Regions from separate parts of the Homo sapiens genome. Here region 1 is linked to region 2. Evidence: promoter capture Hi-C in 16 types of primary human blood cells and fetal thymus (Javierre and others, 2016). All regions are on one chromosome and are shown on one strand. Each heading gives the region's core, a stretch centred on a gene start or on the middle of the fragment in contact. The rest is flanking DNA. Distances are from core to core; before and after follow the strand shown. Region 1 overlaps PDS5A (PDS5 cohesin associated factor A). Region 2 holds the start of SMIM14 (small integral membrane protein 14).

Evidence for each region. The method cuts DNA at HindIII sites, captures the fragments that hold promoters and counts their contacts. A CHiCAGO score of 5 or more calls a contact.
Region 1: a contact is called between a fragment that was not itself captured here and the fragment with the promoter of SMIM14 in region 2, in 1 of 17 cell types (total CD8 T cells). The highest score is 5.5, in total CD8 T cells.

What each region holds. Positions count from the first base shown.
Region 1 is chr4:39,926,565-39,933,932 of GRCh38, forward strand. It overlaps PDS5A (PDS5 cohesin associated factor A), which reads right to left. Exons shown (of 33, transcript NM_001100399.2): 3 at 1,397-1,600; 4 at 211-297. Among named protein-coding and RNA genes, the nearest start is that of PDS5A, 48 kb to the right of the region's middle. The HindIII fragment of the contact is 6,990 bases long and covers 804-7,368 here.
Region 2 is chr4:39,637,122-39,644,359 of GRCh38, forward strand. It overlaps SMIM14 (small integral membrane protein 14), which reads right to left and starts at 1,744. Exons shown (of 5, transcript NM_174921.3): 1 at 1,618-1,744. SMIM14-DT (SMIM14 divergent transcript) reads left to right here and starts at 2,019. Exons shown (of 6, transcript NR_183845.1): 1 at 2,019-2,173; 2 at 4,573-4,671. RefSeq lists enhancers at 1,686-2,403, 4,175-4,770. The HindIII fragment of the contact is 4,728 bases long and covers 1-2,951 here.

The DNA.
Region 1 (7,368 bases), core at 3,049-5,548, 290 kb after region 2:
CAAATAATCTACAGTTTTTCCATCAGAATATACTTTATCTCTTCAGGATAGGAAGAAAAATAAAATAATATTTTCCTTATGAAATGTAAAAGACATTTTATTATAGGCTTTGAATAAAATAAACACTCATTTTACATTACAAAGTTAACATGAAGAATTTGCTATCATGTGAAATAATGTTAATAGTTATTAAAGTTTTTTTTTTTTTACCTCTAATAAATAAAAGTATCTATTAAACTGTGGACTCTTTGTATCCTCCAAACCTTTTAATTGTCTGGTAATAAACAAAAATATGTCCTGTTAAAAAAAAAAACACATTAATTTAGACACAAATACTTTTCTTTCACAACACACTAATAGTATGTAACTTTATTATTTGTGTACAAACTACAATAAAAGAAAATTCTCCTTTAGATGAATGTCTTGGGATTGGCCTAATCCATTATTCAAAATGATTCAAAAGATCCAATCAAATAAAATTATACTCTTTAGAAGCAAAAATAAACTATAAATCTTTAGGCTTTCTCTTTCAGAGCGGACCACAGGCTCTATATCTCATTATAATTTCTTCTACTATCGTGCTTTCACTTTACTCACTATCTCCACCTTGCATCGGGGCAAAAACTATCTTCATTTTAAGGAGTTGGATATGAGTATTTCCATTACTATTACCTACAAGTAAATAGTAATTTTTAGCCAATGTTTTGAAGTTGATGTATGATTACGAAGTTGTGTGTGAAAAAAGGCAACAGACTAGTCCAATGGTTCTATGATTCATGATGGTAGTCTTTCATTTCTTAATAAGCTTTCTTTAGAAATTTTAACTCACAGTAGTATCAATATAATACAAAATGATTTTAGGACTATTTTTAAAGAAAGCAGTCTACAGGATTAAAATTTGCCAAGAATGAAATTATTCAAAATACAAAATCTCCCCAAGAGATCAATGTTAAGAGTTCCACAAACACTTGAACAAAGGCAGAACAACCAAGATGAGCATATAGTTTTGCATGCTGAATAACTTATAGGGGAAAATAGTCATATGAATATGTAAATTCTGGTATGCTATTATTTTAAAAAGTATCATTAATCTGCTATTTATCCCTGGAACATAGCTATCTGGGCTTTTGTGATGAATTAGCCAGAAAATTGGATTTGAGCATACAGGGACTAGTTTTGAACTATACCTTTCTATGCTTCAAATCAAACAACCAAGCAACCCAGTCATTTGTGGAAATACTAACTGAATGAATAATTTTGCAACTTACAATATATTCTTAAGATGAAGAGACTAATATGAAACCTATGTTCATAAAGGTAAAATATAAAAATAAAAGTATACCTTCTGAACAGTGGTGAATGAAAAATACAATAAAGTGAAAAAGGCTGTATTTACCTTAAGTTTATCATGGGAAGTATATGGAGCTTCTGGGGCATAGATACGAAAGATATCAGCCAAACAACATGCTACAAGGAGACGCACATCTTTATTGGGGTTCCTGAGGAAGAATTCAGATGCAAGATGCAAGGCTAGTGGGAGATACTGCTGTTTTTCATCTTCTGAGTCCTGATCCATATCCATAAAGGTTTTCACTACCATCTGTAAAAATGTACAAAAACACAAAATAATTAACTCCTGGAATTTAGAAATCAGTGGAGGATGTGATTTAAAAAAAAAAAAGTCATCTCCATTAGCAATCGGTGGCCACCAGACAGTTCACAGTCAACTTTTTATAAATCTTCATTTAAGAATTTCAGAAAAGATCACAAGCATGAAACGGCTAGTCTAAAAAACCCATAAACAAGTATCACCTTCTCAGGCACATTGTCTGCACTAGTACCTCATTTATGAGGAACTTAAGCCTCTTATTATTCATTTTAAATCTAGCCCAGATAGTTCCTGGCCCCATATGGACAATAACATTCATTTGATATTTGGCAACATCATTAACTATGCTTCTTTTATATTTTATTATTAAAGGAGCCTTCTTCAGGCTCCTTAAAATTGCTATTTCATTTCATGCTTTAATGAGTTTTACACTTCATAATAAAAAGTCATTTTCCATGCTGGACAACATGGCAAGACCCTGTCTCTACAAAAAATACAAAAACCAGCTGGGTATGGTAGCATGTGTCTGTAGTCCCAGCTGCATAGGAGGATGAGATAGGAGGGTCCCTTGAGCCCAGGAGGCGGAGGCTGCAGTGCGCCAAGATCACACCACTGCAATCCAGACTAGGCAACAGAGTGAGACACTGTCTTTAAAAAAAAAAAAAAAGGCATTTTAAAATTATATTAATGCAGTTGTATTTCTAATTAAAACATTTAATTAACCTGCTTTTATGGTTATAAAATTAACCAATGCACACTTTGGAATCATTATAAAATGCAAAGAATCATGAAAAAAAATAAAAGAAAAATCCATAATTTATCAACTCCAGAAACTACCATTCACATTTTTGTGTACTTTATGCTGGCCTGTTTTCTCTGTAATTATGCAAATAACTATAATTCTTTATGTATCAAATCACAATAATTTCCTCAGATCTTAAAAATGATTCTCTAATTATAAATCACAGTTTACTTAATCTGTGTGATGGTTAATACTGAGTGTCAACTTGATTGGATTGAAGGATACAAAGTACTAATCCTGGGTGTGCCTGTGTGTGTGTTGCCAAGAGATTACATTTGAGTCAGTGGGCTGGGGAAGGCAGGTCCACTGTTAAGCTGGTGGGCACAATCTAATCAGCTTCCATCGAATATAAAGTAGGCAGAAAAACATGAAAAGGGACGGCGGGACTAGCCTCCCAGTCTACATCTTTCTCCCGTGCTGGATGCTTCCTGCCCTCAAACATCAGACTCCAAGTTCTTCAGTTTTGGGACTCGGACTGGCTCTCCTTCCTTCTCAGCTTGCAGATAGCCTATTGTGGGGCCTTGTGAGTTAATACTTAATAAACTATATATATATATATATATATATATATATATATATATCCCATTAATATCCTACATACATATATCTCCTATACATATCCTATTGGGGCGTGTGTGTGTGTGTGTGTGTGTGTATTCCTGTTAGTTCTGTCCCTCTAAGAGAACCCTAATACAATCTGTCGCCACTGTCAAATATTCAAGCTATATTTTTATTCTGCCAAGATTTTTTATCATGAGTGTAAAATTTTATTATTATTATTTTTTTTTGAGAAAGGGACTTGCTTTGTTGCCTAGGCTGGAGTGCAGTGAAGCGATCTCAGCTCATTGCAACCTATGCCTCCCAGACTCAAGTGGTCCTCCAACCTCAGCCTCCCAAGTAGGTGGATCTACAAGCATGTGTCACTATACCTGGCTAATCAAAAAAAAAAAATTTGGGGGGCCGGGCGAGGTGGCTCATGCCTGTAATCCCAGCACTTTGGGAGGCCGAGGCGGGCAGATCACGAGGTCAGAAGATCGAGACCATCCTGGCCAACACAGTGAAACCCCGTCTCTACTAAAAATACAAAAAATTAGCCGGGCACAGTAGCACACAACTGTAATCCCAGCTACTCAGGAGGCTGAGGCAGGAGAATCTCTTGAACCCGGGAGGCAGAAGTTGCAGTGAGCCGAGACTGTGCCACTTGCACTCCAGCCTGGGCAACAGAGTGAGACTCCATCTCAAAAAAAAAAAAAAAAAAAAAAAAAAAAAAAGTTTTTTTGTTTTTTGTTTTTTTTTTTTAAGAGACAGGGTTTTGCCATGTTGCCCAGGCTGGTCTCGAACTCCTGGGCTCAAGCGACCTGCCTGCCTCAGCCTCCCAAAGTGTTGGGATTACAGGCATAAGCCACCATGCCTGGGCTATTGAGTATTTTTTGACACCTATTGAGATAATCATACTTTTTCCCTAATTCTGTTAATATAGTAAATCCCAATGGCTGATTTTCTAATTTTAATTCAAGTTTGCATTCTAATTTTACTATTTTAGTCCAAGTTTGCATTGCTAAAATAAAGACAACTTGGTCATAACATTTTAAGGTATTACATTTTATTTGCTATTACATTATTTCTATTTCTTTGTAATTATATGAAAGAAACTGGCTTATAACTTCTTAAGACAACCGTATCAGGTTTTAGTACTAAATTATACTGGCTTGAAACAAAATAAGCAGTGATCCCTCTTTTTTTCTAACATAGTATATCAAAAGTGTGATAGTAAGACTGGTTTTATTTCTTCCCTAAATATTTAGGGAAGTATAACTGATAAAAGAAGGAATCATAACGGAAATGAGAAAATATTTTGAACTGAATTATAATGTAAATATGAACTACCAAAACTCATAGGATGCACTTACCACTGTACTTAAAGGAAATTTATAATCTTAAATGTGTATTTTACAAAAGAAAGAATGCAATCATCTATATTTCCATCTTGAGAAATTAGATAAATCCAAAGAAACTAGAATCAGGGTTTGTGAAACAAAAGATAGAGAAGGGCTGGATGTGATGGCTCACACCTGTAATCCCAGCACTTTGGGAGGCCAAGTCAGGAGGATCGCTTGAGCCCAGCAGTTCCAAGACAAGGGTCTGGCTCTGTCACCTAGGCTGGAGTACAGTGGCGCAATCTCAGCTCACTGCAACCTCCACCTCCCAGGCTCAAGAGTTCCTTCCACCTCAGCCCCCTGAGCAGCTGATACTACAGCACACGCCACCACACCTGGCTAGGTTTTGTACTTTTTTTTTTTTGTAGGATGGGATTTTGCCATATGGTGCCCAGGCTAAAAAAATTTTTTTTAATTATTGCTATGTAACAAAATACCCCAAAACTCAGTGCCTTAAAACAATAACATGTATTTATCATATGTGGTTGAAGAATTGGAAAGTGGCTTAGCTAAGTCGTGTGGGCCTGGAATCTCTCAAGAGGCTGTACCTGGTCAAGGCTGCAGTTATCTGAAGGCTTGACTGGGCGTGGAGGGTGTGTTTTGAAGGTAACTCATTCTTACGGTTCTAAGTTGACACTTGCTGTTGTTGAAAGGCTTCAGTTCCACACTACATGGGCCTTTCTAGACAGCTCAAGTGAAAAGGCAGTTGGTTTTCCCCTGGTGCAAGATCCAAGAGAGCAAATATGAAGTGGCAGTCTTTTACGACCTAACCTTGAAAAGCATACATTGTCACTTCTACCACAGCCTGTTCCGTTACTCAGGACAGCCCCGTTCAGTGTTGCAGGGGACTATACAAGGGAGTAAATACAAGGAAATAAGGATCATTCAGAGCTATCTTGGAGGCTATGATACAATGCCTTCTCATATGTATACCTTATATAGTCTTCTTCCACAATGACTCTGGATTTGGTCAGGTGACTTTTTTTTTTTTTTTTTTAAGACAGAGTCTTGCTCTGTCGCCCAGGCTAAACTGCAGTGGCATGATCTTGGCTCACTGCAATCTCTGCCTCCCAGGTTCAAGGGATTCTTCTGCCTCAGCCTCCCAAGTAGCTGGGAACTACAGGCACTCGCCACCAAGTCTGGCTAAGTTTTGTATTTTTAGTAGAGACAGGATTTCACCACGTTGGCTGGGTTGGTCTTCAACTCCTGACCTCAGATGATCCACCTGCCTCAGCCTCCCCAAATGCTGGGATTACAGGCATGAGCCTCCATGCCCAGTCCATGTGACTTATTTTGGCCAAACAGACATTAGCAAGCCTGATGCAAGAACAGGCCTGATAAGCATTTGTACGTTGAGATTGCAATGCCCCTATGGGAATGTACCCACCATGCTATTAGGAATCCCAGACTATTCAAAAAACAGAGGCTGTGTATACCACATAGACTACGTGGAAGAGAACTAAGGTGGCCTAATTGAGCTGCCATCTAAACTTAGCCATAAGAGTGACCCTGTAGAAGCAAAGTAGAGCTTCATAAATACACACAACCAAGGGGAGAAAACCTGTGGTGGCTGTGAAGGTCCTGATGCCATGTATGTCAAACTGGTATCTTCCGATGGTCATGAATTTATTGTAAAAAGAGAACATGCAGCGCTAAGCGCGGTGGGTCACAGCACTTTGGGAGGCTGAGGCAGGCAGATCACGAGGTCAGGAGTTCGAGACCAGCCTGACCAACATGGTGAAACCCTGTCTCTACTAAAAATACAAAAATTAGCTGGGCCTGGTGGTGCGCGCCTATAATCCCAGCTACTCAGGAGGCGGGGCAGGAGAATCGCTTGAACCTAGGAGGCGGAGGTTGCAGTGAGCTGAGATCACGCCACTGCACTCCAGCCTGGGCTACAGGAGCAAGACTCCATTTCAAAAAAAAAGAGAGAACATGCACTAACATGAGGAACAATCAAAAGGCCATGCTGAAGCCAAGCACAGTGGCTCATGCTTATAATCCCAGCACTTTGGGAGGCTGAGGAGCGTGGATCACATGAGGTCAGGAGTTCGAGACCATCCTGACCAACATGGTGAAACCCTGCCTCAATCAAAAATACAAAAATTAGCCGGGCATGGTGGCAGGTGCCTGTAGTCCCAGCTACTCGGGAGGATGGGGCAGGAGTAACGCTTGAATCCAGGAGGCAGAGATTGCAGTAAGCCAAGATCGTGCCATTGCACTCCAGCCTGGGTGACAAAAGCAAAACTCCGTCTCAAAACCAAAACCAAAACCAAAACCATGTTGAATGACCCAGATCAGTTTGCTGAGAATGAACTCATTGAGAGCAATTTTAGAGAGGTCTGTTCATGTGTGCTATCAAAAGTATGTATGTATTGTCAAGAATGGTGGCTTGCACTTACAATCTCAGCTACTTGGGAGGCTGAGACAAGATGACTGCTTGAGCCCAGAAGTTCTAGGCTGCAGTGAGCTATGATCATGCCAATGCACTCCAGCCTGGTGACAGAACAAAATGCTACCTCTAGAAAAATAAAATAAAAGTTAAAGCATGCATATATTTTTACCTACGAGATTCACTAAACTAACAGTTCCACTGAAATTTCTGAATTCCCAATTGCACTTGATATTGCACTAGAACCGCTGATGCAGACTTCCCAGATTGTTATTAAATTAAAATAAACTGTTTAAAAAAAAAACCAGTGACCCCAGAAGGCACCACATGGAAAAGAAGGACCACAAAGTCTATTCACAGAATTGAAAGAAACAATTATTCATTTTAAGCCACTAGATTTTGCTTTACCACACAGGAACAGAAATGAAATTCCATTCATTCTTCCCTTTTTTAAATATGTCGTTACTGTGCACATTTTTAATGTGCTGTACTGAGGCAGGAAAGATAAAAGCTACATTTCCTAGATTCCCTTGCAATGGAGTTGAAGTCATAATTCTCGTATAGCCCATCAGAGGCACTTATTCAAGATTTGGAAGGTGAAAGTTCAGAAGAGGTGGTGGTGTAGTTT
Region 2 (7,238 bases), core at 494-2,993:
TTGTATAAAATATATAAATGCAAAAAAGTAGTTTAGAAGGGTATAAACTAACATTTTGGTGATCTTTGGGTGGCAGGATTATTGATTTTTTTTTCCTATCTGCTTTTATCAACATCTTCTCTATTACACAAAGTATTTCGTATAACCAAAAATATTAGTTATAGGCTAGCATAAAAGGTAAAAAGCTGAAAAAGAACTTCAAGAAATCTTTCCTTCTTCTAAATCAGAAGGATTCCAACTACAGTAGTAAGAAAAAATATCTCAACGGCAAACACTGGAGAAAAGATTCGTTAAGGGGTTCATGTTATACCACAAGGACATACCCTTCAAGGAAATAATCTAAACTCATAACTCTTCCTGGGTTTGATAAGGAGCAATTAACTATCACGTACTGTTGTTCTTTCTTGCTGTTAACCACTGAAACACCTCAATTAATGAGTTCTCGGGGGTGAAGCGGTGTTCTTAAACACCACGTTGGAAAAAAAAAAAAAGTTAGGACAAAAAGGTTTGGTTTTCTGGTCGCAGTGCTGTCGACGGCCGCGGAGAGCGGCAAGTTCGGAGCAGGCTACACTAAAGGAATCTGCGCGGCCAGCCACCCTAAGTGGAAGGGAATGCAAAGCCTCCTGCAACCTCCACAGCGCTGGGCAGCAAGAATGCCTCCTAAGCGTCCCAACACTCCAACACCTGGAAGGTCTTACGCTTTCCAAGTTATAATATGTACAGCTGCTGTTTCTGACAATAACACACACAAACTGGAAGGTCTCTTCTGCAAATGTAGCTATTACGTGTGTGAAGCTCATCCGACTCTCTCGATGCAAAAGTAACACATTCTATTAAGGCCACAGCCTCGGTTTTGCCAACTGGGGCAACTGAAAACATCCTACCGACTCTCTACAGCTAGCAAACCATCTCGGCTAAAATCCTGGCACATATAAACAGCCACTTTGGTGAAGTCTGCCTTTAAACAGCAACACGGGACTTCGGGTAGAGCCGGTAACCAGTTTATCACACACTATTAGTTCCAATAAAGGGTGCTGCTACCTCTTTACTGTCAGCCTTGGTTCCACTTACTGAGCAAACAGAAAAAGGGGATCCTTTAAATTCGCGACACAATAGGAGCTAAAAAGCTCTCGCTTTCAGGGTGTCAGCTTTCTCGTCTCACTTATCACAACAAAGGACGCATCCTAGTGACTTCACCGTACCCAGAAAGGGCTGAGGGAGACGGTAAACAAGATAGTGTGGATTTCAGGATTTGTGAGTTTTTCCTTCCAGCTACGACTCTCTTTTTACTCCATGATACGCCTCCACCCGTCGACAATCTGATCCTAAAAATAAAACCACCCGTGGCTACCTTGCCCTTGCCTGCAAAGCCCCGACTCTGACATCCTGCAGAGAATACCCAATTGCAGGCTCTTCGCGGGGGACGCGGGCTCGGCAGCAGCGGAGCTTCTCCCGGTGCAGAATCGCCAGCCCGGCCGAGGAAACGCCAAGCCCGAGAAACAGCCCTGTTCTGCCGCAGCCGCCGCAGTCCCCGAGAGCCTGAGGAGCCCCCAGGAAAAACTGGGGCGAGGGGAGGGTGAGCCAGCAAACGCTGGTGGGAGAGGGGGAGACACTCACCCGCCCAGACAACAACCGATGGGGCGGGGAGGATGGGGGCCGGGACCGAGGCTCGGCAGAAAGACCGCCTGGAGCTTCCAGAAGGCTGCGGCTGCTCCGGACGCTGCTGCCACTGCCGTTTCTGGCCGCCGGCTTCCTCCCCCTCCTCTGTTTTGATTCGAGTGACCACGTCACTCTTAGCCACAAGACCCGGATCTGCCGGCTCCCGCGGGCGGCGGCGCAACAGATTGCAGCGCCTGGAGACTCCAGCTGCCCCGCCTGCCGAGCATGCGCATGCCCAGCGCCTGCCCTGTGCGTCCCGGGAAGCCGGGCGGGAGCCTGCGGCTTCGGACGCCTACGACACGCTGTGCGTGGGGGCGCGGAGTGCGGGGGATGTAGTTCCGGTTGGGAGGGGCGTGGCTGAGGACTGTGAAGCAATCGGGGCGAGGCCGGGTGTCTGTTCAACTCTCCCGCGTATCGTCTGTTTCTTCGGCGGCGGACAGTGTTCTGTAATGTGTCTCCCGTTGCCCGAGCTAAAGGTTTTCCTCGACGGAGTCTTTAGAATACCGTGGTAGAGGTAGACGCGGTTACAAATTGATGTCTGTTGAGACAGTCTACCCCTGTAAAGTGTTTTTGGTTACTCAGGCCCGGATGGAAATTGGAGATGGGGATTACAAAAATACATCAAATGTGGCTGTTATTGATTCCCTTTACCTTAACATTTTTGCACCGGAAACGACCAAAATTAAGTTCAACAGGAATATTAATAAAAGGAATATGTAGTCGGGCTTGGTGACTCATGCCTGTAATCCCAGCACTTCAGGAGGCAGAGGTGGGCGGATCACTTGAGGTCAGGAGTCCGAGACCAGCCTGGCCGACATGGTGAAACCCCATCTCCACTAAAAACACAAAAATTAGCCGGGCATGGTGGTGCCCGCTTGTAGTCCCAGCTACTCGGGAGGCTGAGGTGGAAGAATCGCTTGAACCCGGGAGGCGGAGGTTGCAGTGAGCCGAGATCGCGCCACTGCACTCCAGCCTGGGTGATAGTGAGACTTTGTCTCAAACTAAATAATTAAAGATATGTGACCAAAGATGACTTGCTGGTCAGGAGATAATGGGGAAGTAGGAGGGAATGCTGTGGCTAGGCAGCCAGCCAGCCCAAGTCTTAGTTGCTTTGGTTGTAGAGCTGGAATAAGAGTGCTGCTTTTACCCAATCTTCCTTTTAGAGCAAGTTGGTGCTTCCTATTCTCCCATTCTAGTCTCTGAGTCTCCCCGCTAAATTTTGGGGGCCCTGGAAATTTCCCAATTTGGCAAAATGCAGAACTATATTGTTTTCTTAGGTCCTTCAGTTGGCAAGCTTTAATTAAAATGGGACAAGTGGCGAAGTAAAAGTGAATCCCAAACAAAGATTTTACGAAAGTGCCTCTCTGCCAGTCTTGACGGAGAGGTGAAAGCTGCAAGCTTTCTTACTCAGATTTGATGACCTTTTCACTTACCCAGACTTCCACCTCAGCAATTTGGTTAATTACCCCTCGACAAGCTGAATCACCTTCCCCAAATAAGTATCATTTACAAGAGCTTTTTAATTAAAGTGGATATTGAACACAGGTAAAGGTTTCTAGAAAATTAAAGGTTTCTGGTAAAACTTGAAGTGTTTCCCAGTTAACTAATTGCAAAGTAGATACAAAGAATAAAGATTTTGGCCCTTAATCTGCAACCTTGAACTCTGCTTACTCAAATTCAGAGTTTGAGATGGAATCTGGTGCCCTAATGAGCTGACACTGTACCAAAGGGTCTTTAATTTGTGCAACTCCAAACAAAATCTGTTATGCTTGAGTGCACCCATGGGCACGTATGTGTTTGAGAACACAGCTGTGTTTAAGAGAACAGTATGGTACAAAACTAGAATTGTACTGGTTGTTGCAAAATTCTCAGTACTTGGTTTTGTTGTTGTTGTTTTTGTTGTTGTTGTTTTTGTTTGTTTTTGAGATGGAGTCTTGCTCTGTTGCCCAGGCTGGAGTGCAGTGGCTCGATCTCGGCTCACTGCAAGCTCCGCCTCCTGGGTTCACGCCATTCTCCTACCTCAGCCTCCCGAGTAGCTGGGACTACAGGCACCCGCCGCCACCACGCCTGGCTAATTTTTTGTATTTTTAGTAGAGACGGGGTTTCACCATGTTAGCCAGGATGGTCTCAAGCTCCTGACCTCGTGATCCGCCCGTCTCGGCCTCCCAAAGTGCTGGGATTACAGGCGTGAGCCACCGCGCCTGGCCTTTTTTTTTTTTTTTTTGAGATAGGGTCTTGCTCTGTTGCACAGGCTGGAATGCAGTGGTGCAATCATAGCTCACTACAGCCTCAAACTCCTGGGCTGAAGTGATCCTCCCATTTTAGCCTCCTGAATAACTAAGACTACAGACACATGCCACCACAGTGAGCTACTTTTTTTTTTAATTTGTTATAGGATCTTGCTATATTGTTGAGACTGGTCTTGAACTCCTGGTCTGAAGTGATCCTCCTGTTTCAGCCTCCCAAAGTGTTGGGGTTACAGGCATGGGTCACTGTGCACACCCAGTACTTGCTTTATAAAGTAAATTACAGGAAAACCAAGATGTTAGGATTAGCCTGGCGAGGTGCTGTATGCCTGTAGTCCCAGCTACTCAGGAGGCAGAGACAGGAGAATTGCCTGAACCCAGGAGTTAGAGGCTTTGAATAGCCACTGCACTCCAACCTGGGCAACATAGCAATACCTTGTCTCAGAAACAAACAAACAAAAAAGATGTTGGGATCCTTGGTAGCCAGCCTCTAAGAGGACCCCCAGTGATTGTCACCGCTGGTGGTCTGCATCAACCCTTTGAATCAGGACTACTATGTTTTACCAATAGAATACAATTGAATGTGTGTGACTTCTGAGGTTAGGTCACAAAGACACTGATTGCAGCTTTCCCTCTCATTCTCTTTGATTGCTTGCCCTGGAGGAAGGCAGTCTCCACACCACTGTGCTCGAACAGCTCTATGAAGAGGCCTATGTGGAGAGGAGAAAAAGCCTCCACCAACAGCCAGCACCAACTTGCCAGCCATGTGAGTGAACTAACTTGATTGATCCTGCAGCCCTAATCAAGCATTCAGATGACTGCATCCCTGCCCAACATTTGATTGCAAGTTTTTGAGAGCTAGAATAGGCTAGCTCTTACCCACAGACACTGATATGGGATATTATATGCTTTTTTGTTCTGATCTTTAAGAGCAGTTTTTTCTCCCTTTTTTGTTGTTTGTTTTTGTTTTTGTTTTTGAGTCGGAGTTTTGCTCTTGTTGCCCAGGCTGGAGTGCAATGGTGTGATCTCAGCTCACCACAACCTCCGCCTCCCAGGTTCAAGCAATTCTCCTGCCTCAGCCTCCCCAGTAGCTGGGATTACAGGCATGTACCACCACGCCCGGCTAATTTTGTATTTTTTAGTAGGGACAGGGTTTCTCCATGTTGAGGCTGGTCTCAAACTCCTGACCTCAGGTGATCCACCCGCCTCGGCCCCACAAAGTGCTTGGATTGCAGGCATGAGCCACTGCGCCAGGCTGTTTTTTTTTTTTTTGAGTCTTGCTCTGTTGCCCAGGCTGGAGTGCAGTGGTGCAATCTTGGCTCACTGCAACCTCCGCCTCCTGGATTCAAACGATTTCCTGCCTCAGCCTCCCTAGTAGCCGGGATTACAGGTGCATACCACCACACCTGGCTAATTTTTGTATTTTTAGTAGAGATGGGGTTTCACCGTGTTGGCCACGCTGGTCTCGAACTCTTGATCTCAGGTGATCCGCCTGCCTTGGCCTCCCAAAGTGCTGGGATTACAGGCGTGAGCCACTGTGCCCGGCCCCTAAGTGCAGTTTTTCTAAACTAAACAATGGAAGAACTAAAAAGTGTGTAATTCTATGTGTAAAGAATAACATAGAATTCCTACCATACAACCGAGAGCATAGTAAACATTGAATAAATATTTGTTGAATGGACACAGAATTAAAAAAGAAACACCAATTGGAGAATTTGGAACAAATACTGATAGTTAAAGGAGAAATACCATAATATATGAAGGGCTCATACAAATCAATAGGGAAAATTAATGCCTGCCACACATGCATAGGTATAAAGTATGAACTGATGGTTCACACACACAAAGGAAATACAAATGTTTGACATTTGAAAATCTTCCATCTCACTAGTAATCAAAAAATGCAAATTAAAATGATTTTCTTTTTTGGCTACTACATTAAGGAAATATATTTATTTATTTACTTATTTTAGAGATGGGGTCTTGCTCTGTCACCCAGGCTGGAGTGCAGTGGCTATTCACAGATGTGACCACAGTGCATTGCAACCTTGAACTCCTGGTCTTAAGCAATCCTCCTACCTCAGCGTCCTGAGTAGCTGGGACTACTGGCATGTGCCACCCAGCCTTTTTTTTTCTTTTAATAGACAGGAGTCTCACTATGTTGGCCAGGCTGGTCTCCAACTCCTAGCCTCAAGGGAAGTGCAAACTACTGCACCAGGCCTGGACAACATGGTGAAACCTTGTCTCTACAAAAAAAAAAAAAAAAATTAACCAGACATTGTGGTGGTGCCTATAGTCCCAGCTACTCAGGAGGCTGAGGTGGGAGGGGATGGCTTGAGTCCAGGAGGTAGAGGTTGCAGTGAGTCAAGATTGCGCCACTGTATTCCAGCCTGGGCGATAGAGCCAGACTTTATCTCAAAAAATTTTTCTTTTTTTCATATTTGAAAATAGAGCTAGGGTCTCACTATGTTGCCTAGACTGGTCTCAAACTCCTGGGCTCAAGTGATCCCACCGCCTTGGCCTCTCAAAGTGCTGGGATTATAGGCATGAACCACCACACCCAGCCTATTTTATTCTTTTTGATGATATTATAAATGGAATTGCTTGTTTTTTGTTTTTGAGACAGAGTCTCGCTCTGTCACCCAGGCTGGAGTGCTATGACACTATCTCAGCTCACTGCAACCTCTACCTCCCAGGTTCAATCAATTCTCATGCCTCAGCCTCCTGAGTACCTGGGACTACAGGTGCGCACCACCACCCCGGCTAATTTTTGTAATTTTAGTGGAGACAGGGTTTCACTATGGGCTTGAACACCAAGGTCTTGAACTCCTGGCCTCAAGTAATCCGCCCACGTCCACCTCCCAAAGTGTGGGATTACAGGCATTGAGCCACATCACCTGGTCACTTTCTTAATTTCCTTTTCAGAGTGTTCATTGTTAGTATGTAGAAATGCAGGCGATTTTTGAGTATTGCTTTTGTAGCCTGCAACTTGGCTGAATTTATTAGTTCTAAATTTTTTTTGGTGGATTAGTAGTAGGATCACACCAATGACTAGCCACTGCACTCCAACCTGGGCAACATAGCAAAACTCTGTCTCCTTAAAAAAAAAAAATCATTAAATAATTTGAAATTACAAATACCCTACAGCATATGGAGAAATGTTATGGACATATTGTTAAGGGGAAAAATGATACAACTTGCACACTATGACTACATCTGGGTAAAAAATATTTTGCAGGCGGGTGCGGTGGCTCATGCCTGTAATCCCAGCACTTTGGGAGGCCAAGGTAGGTGGATCACCTGAGGTCGGGAGTTCGAGACCAGCCTTACCAA